2 separate regions of the Homo sapiens genome follow, and region 2 is linked to region 1. The links are contacts of gene promoters, found by promoter capture Hi-C in blood cells and fetal thymus (Javierre and others, 2016). All regions are on one chromosome and are shown on one strand. The core of a region is centred on a gene start or on the middle of the fragment in contact, and the rest is flanking DNA. Distances in the headings are between cores, read along the strand shown. Region 1 holds the start of SLC25A32 (solute carrier family 25 member 32). Region 2 holds the start of COX6C (cytochrome c oxidase subunit 6C).

What was found. Contacts are between HindIII fragments. The CHiCAGO score rates a contact against its expected background, and 5 or more counts as called.
Region 2: the fragment with the promoter of COX6C here is called in contact with the fragment with the promoter of SLC25A32 in region 1 in 2 of 17 cell types (total B cells and monocytes); the score reaches 6.7 in total B cells.

What each region holds. Positions count from the first base shown.
Region 1 is chr8:103,413,463-103,416,413 of GRCh38, forward strand. It overlaps SLC25A32 (solute carrier family 25 member 32), which reads right to left and starts at 1,645. Exons shown (of 7, transcript NM_030780.5): 1 at 1,322-1,645. The coding sequence starts at 1,475. DCAF13 (DDB1 and CUL4 associated factor 13) reads left to right here and starts at 1,924. Exons shown (of 11, transcript NM_015420.7): 1 at 1,924-2,054. The coding sequence starts at 1,985. RefSeq lists enhancers at 1,311-1,932, 1,666-2,005. The HindIII fragment of the contact is 9,226 bases long and covers 1-2,951 here.
Region 2 is chr8:99,892,422-99,895,121 of GRCh38, forward strand. It overlaps COX6C (cytochrome c oxidase subunit 6C), which reads right to left and starts at 1,286. Exons shown (of 4, transcript NM_004374.4): 1 at 1,218-1,286. RefSeq lists enhancers at 128-776, 777-1,424 and a silencer at 898-1,067. The HindIII fragment of the contact is 2,962 bases long and covers 1-2,284 here.

The sequences.
Region 1 (2,951 bases), core at 395-2,894:
TTGGGCAAGTTAGTCAACTTCTGTTATCCTCATCTGTATAGCAGATATCATAAACTCACAGGATTGTTCCTGTGAATAGATTTACAGGATAATAAATGAGATAATGCATCTAAAGCATAGTTCACTGCCTTGCTCCTAGTAAATACTCGATAAAGATTACTTGTCAATAACATAATTATTTGTGCATGCATCATAAAACTTCATGACATTATATGTCTTTGTGGTGTTTTTTCTAGAGATAATACTCCATAATTTTCGATGATTTTCCTTCATAGAACGGGTTCTTGCTTCCTCTCCAGCTGTCAAAATATTAGCCCTTCTATGGGAAACCCCAAGCCCCAATCTTCCACTGAACCTTAAAGATACACATGGCCATCAGTAATGTAGAATTTTCTTAACGGTTTACCTGTATTTATATTTTGTTTTTGTATTTCTTGATTTTATGTTGTCTAGAATTACCTTTTATATGACTAAGTCTAACGCCTACAATTAAATTCTAAGTTCCCTGAAGGCAAGAACTTTATTAGATACTTCTGTAGCCCATACAGCAGTCTACAAATATTAAGAGAATATAAATCAAGTGAACTGAATTGCCTAATGCTAAAATAAACAACTTCTGTAGATTTAATTCTCAAGGCTGAACTTAACTTGTAATAACTTTATTTGGAAACTATTTTCTGCAATTTCAGTTATCAAAGATCATCTTTGAAACTCTTTCCAGACTTTAGTGTTGAGTTTAACTTCTAAAATGCTTTGTTAATTTCAACATACTCAATTCATCTAATACACTTAAAATAGTATTTCGATTCTAGCTATTTTTTCACAGAAACTTGTACCATTCTACAAATGCCAAAAAACAAACATTCAAGAGAATTCTATTCTAAATCTACTCCCAACCATTCGCTGAAGATTACGCCCTATCCCAATACTAGTCGAGCTGCCAAACCACGTGGGTATGCTAAGATTTCAAAGTTCCTCCAAGAGTGAATGATTTGCACGTGTGAGGACTAAACCTTAAAATGTGACAATCCCTTCTTTATTTTACAAATCAGGCTTTGAATCCCATCTTCTCTGCCAATGAGGATGTTTTTTCTCAGACTTCTCTACATACATGCCCCCTCTCTTAGTCTTGAGGAGCGGGGAAGATCGCAGGCCGACCCCTCCACCAAGCACCATTTCCTCAAATCTAGTTCAGGTTAGCCAACGCGGACAGCAACGCTCCCTTCAACGCTCCTCCTCCCCCTAGAACGGAAAAGACGGAGGAGATCCAGTTCGGGCTGACAGTGAGAGGATGCAGCCCGGTGTCTGGGCGGGCTCTTACCGGCGAAGCGGATCTTCACGAGGTCGAGCGGATGCAGCGCAAGGTTGGATAAGACGCCGCCGCTCACGCCCGCTATCAGGTTCTCATACCGGACGTGGCGGAATACCGTGCTCCACGCCGACGACCCGGACGCCGACTGGCCCTGGCCCGTCATAGGCTCGGGGCCCGTCGACACCACGGCGCCCAGGGCCGCGGAGGTGGGACGCGATGCAGTGGCCGCCACCGTGGCGACGGTCGCCCCTTGTGAGCGCAACCCCACCTCCGGGACCAACGAGAGGACTCTTATGCCCAAGGCGCGTGAGCGAAGCCGGAGACTCTAGTACTGAGGGGGCAAGAACGGGGCACAGACACTACGTCACGCCGGCGGAAAGCGCGATGGAGGGGAGGTCCCAGCCTCTCCCGAGTCTCCGCCCTGCCTCGCCCACAAATGCTCCAGCCCACGGACGCGGAAGCGACTGCACAGCTAAAGAACCGCCCCTTGCTAACGTTTGCCGGCAAAACTACGGAGCGGCGCAGGATCCAGTTGAGCCAGCAGGCCGCCGCTCCGCGAGTCACGTGACTGGAAGTAGTCTGGGAAAAGCGGAAGTCGCCTGTGGGAGGAGGTGGCGGTGGGCGGAACTCCTAGCGGACACCTCGTGGAGTCCGGCCGGAAGAGCAACCGAGATGAAGGTGAAGATGCTGAGCCGGAATCCGGACAATTATGTCCGCGAAACCAAGTTGGACTTACAGAGAGGTAAGATAAGTTGGTAGGGAGAAAGGGACGGTTTCCGCAAGTCGTTGGGTCTAGCCTCGGCTTTCGCGGAGTAAAGCCGGGGGAGGCTGGCACTCTGGTCTGGTTCTTTCTCAGTTACCTTTCGCTAAGGCAAACTTTGTGCTTACGGAGTCGCTGCGGAACTGGATGGATAGCAAGTAAAGTCTGTTCAAGTCCTTTTTCTAAGAATTTCCTCTAGTGGTGAGTGGGAAACAGTTGTCTATAGTGGAGAAAAATTCCAGCTGCTGCTCTGGGATTGTCTTCAGGTTCCTATTACTGAAAAGTGGACTTGAATGAGCCAAACTCGTGGGTTGAAGGGCTGAGAGTTAAACAGGCTTTTAAAACCTTCCTACTGCTCTTCTTGCCGCTTTACTACTTCACATTAGTTGTGGATGTTGGAAGAGACAAAGATGAATTTAAAAGCATCAGTTTTCTCTTACCATCCCTTAAGAAGTTTGATGAAAGAATGGTTAAATGAAATTAATTTATCCTTCCTGGTCTGTTCCCCCGTTAACATGCTAACCACTTATAAATTGTACTTTGTGATACCTAAATGACAAGGGACCAACCATGCGTAAGCAGATTGTTCTAAATAAAGAGAATAACAGGAGCAAAGGTCTTCAGGCAGGAATGAACCTAAGGCATAGAAAGAAGGGCTGTGTCATTAGTTTGAATGAGGAGTAAGCGAGATGAGATGAGGCGAAAACAGTATTTCACTATTTTGGTTGAGTAGGAGATATTATCAACATGTGTGTGAGCATTGCTAATAAGTCTCTGCTCAAAAGATGTTTACAGTTTGTCACAAGGCAGTAATGTTTCTAAAATATAAATTAGATTTGTCACTTGGATTTGGCATCGTTCCCAGTCCTTGAATCTCTG
Region 2 (2,700 bases), core at 36-2,535, 3.5 Mb before region 1:
TGGGTTGAGACATGGGTGAGGGGCGGCACTGAAGTCCAATACTCAGGTCTCTGCGTCCTGCATACCTCATGTAGCTCTCACTACTCTGAGCTTTTTTTCCCTTTCTCGGGTAAAATAATAAAAGAAAAACTCAGAAAAGATATCAAAAGGAATTCTCATGCATAGTACATTTTACTACCTAGAGAGGCACAGCACGACAGTGGATGGATTCCTCCCACAAAGCCTAAGCTGTCTCTTGGCTTAGCCTGTTTCATCTTCCCCCCGCCCCCCATATACTGAGCGACCACCCTAAATAAACGCGACAAACTGCGGCACACTAGTAATGGACGAGCAAAGGCAACAAAAATCTTTCCAACAACAAGAAAAATAAGCAGTAGCTCCGCATTGGTAATTAACGATTGCAAACCCATTTATGCAACACTTTCTCTTCTAAAAATTTTCTGTCCACTCGTTAAACCTTCGCGACAACCCTGTCAGATCATGAGGCAGGTGTTTTCCACGGTCACACGGTATACCATTAAAACCTGGACGGGAACGCGGCAAATACCATGAGGGCCCAAATTCCCTAACTGCTCCTTTGCCCAGCCTCACCTAAAGACCTAAGGGGCCTAAAAACTTTTGCGTCCCTGCTGGCCTTCAGCTAACGCGGCCGGGGGTAGGATGGGAAGCCGTGGGGCAAGGGAGGTTGCAGGAAGCCCATCCTTCCCCTCCTGCGGCAGGTACGGTGACCCTCCTCCAGTTTTCCAGCTCTAATTTAAAACGCTGCCACACAGCGAGCGACGCTGCCAGCTGCTTCGCCTACACTAACCCTTGCGCCTCACGACCAGCTGCATTAGAAACCACCACCCCTTTTCTCACGGGAGAAACACCGGGGCCAGATAGGTCAAATGACCTCACCAAGGTCACAATGGCTGTGAAAAAGCGCAGCGGGTACCAGCCCCGGGCCAGCTCACTCCGAAGCCAGCTGGGTTCTCGAGGGTCCCGCAGCCCACCCGGCTTCGGTGGGGCCGTCGCAACCCACCCCGGTCCGTGGTCCGCCCGCCGCCCTCCCTCAGGCCGCAGCGGAAGCGTGAGAGAGTAGATGCGGGAGAGGCCTGAAGCTGCACCACGGCGGAGACACACAGTCACGACTAAATCCGAGGCAGAGAGAAAGCGGGAGGGTGCCGTTGTGACAACCCGCAGTGTCGGGGTAGGGATGCAAAAGGGACCGGACTCACCTCAACACCAACGTCCTTCCTGACTAAAGGAAAAACGAACCGTGCTGTAGCCGCGCGCAGGCGCAGAATAAGAGTGCACAGCGAGAACGCGGCGACGGTAGCCGAAGGAGTTCAAAAGACCTCTAGTGCGCCCACCGCAGGTGACAGCCGAAGTTCATTTCGTGGTCTGCTTCTTTCCTGTGTGACCTTGCAAAACGGGCTTGACCTCCTTATTTATCGACCTCTTTATCTTCTTAGTAAATTGAAGATATTAGTCGTACTCATACACAGAGTCCCAAACCATGTGCACAAACCGACATTTTAATTATAACCAACCTTACGCGAATAACCGTTTGGCTTGGGTAAAAGTGAAAAAGCTGACTTCTAGGAGCTCACAGCCCAGAAGATGAAAAAGACAAACAGATTAATACCGATCCCATGCAGTGGGCACTACCACAGAGACGTGGCCCAGCTACTGCAGAAGCAATTCTCTACCTGGCAAAGCTGAGGACGTTTTGATAGAGGGGCGGTATTTTTGTGGGTTTCTTAAGAAAACAAGGATTTTGAAGGAAGGCAACTGGAAGTTCGTGGAAAGTGGTGTAGAAGGGTGAGGCTCTTGTGCCTTAATGATGCCAGGCTGTTTGTATTGAAATAACCTGAATTTTAAAAGCATTATTTAAGTCAACCCATCAAGCCCTGTGGAAGGTAGCTGGGACACAACAGATGCATGATATTGAGTCGATATATACACTGAGTACCTACTATGTGCCAGATTCTGCTAAACAAGAGGACAGATCTTCGGGGAGTCTCATTCTGATCAGGGAGTCTTTGTCCTCAACCTATTAACCAACACTCTGGAGGGTGAAACCTGGCCACAAAGAAAGGTGCTCAATTGAGGTTCAAAAGTAGGTTTGGACTTTACCAACGTTTTTCAGGCCTCTTATCAAGGGTCTACCCAGCTGAAAATCTTTGCATGGAATTTGTCCAGAGAGTAATTTGTTTCTATTCTCTTTCCATCCCCACCCCCAGAGAAGAAGTGGTGAACTTAAGAGTTCACAGGGATTAGTGTATGTGAAACCATCAGGGAAAGCTTCAGACAATACGTGGAAGAGATGGAAGCAGAGCTGAGTTTCAGTCTAATGGAAAGCCTGGAAAACTGGAGAAATTGGAGAGAAAACATTGGCTGGGAGAACATGGCAAAGACAGGCACACTCAGGGCACAGAGCCTGACCTGAGTGAAATACTGAGTGTTTGTTCTGTGCTTCCCTAGCTATCCAGTGAACCATAGTGAATGACTGAGGGTGACACGTGAATAAAACCTGAGCGATAGATGAAGAGAGACATGTTACATATAGGTTCTGTTCTAGAGCCGAACAGACCTGGATTTGAGTCCCAGCTCATCAACTTGTAGCGGCAAATTTCTTCATCTTTCTAAGTCTGCTTTCTCCTCTAAAAATAGTACCCATTTTGTTGGGTTGTGATGTAAATTAAATGGGATAATGTA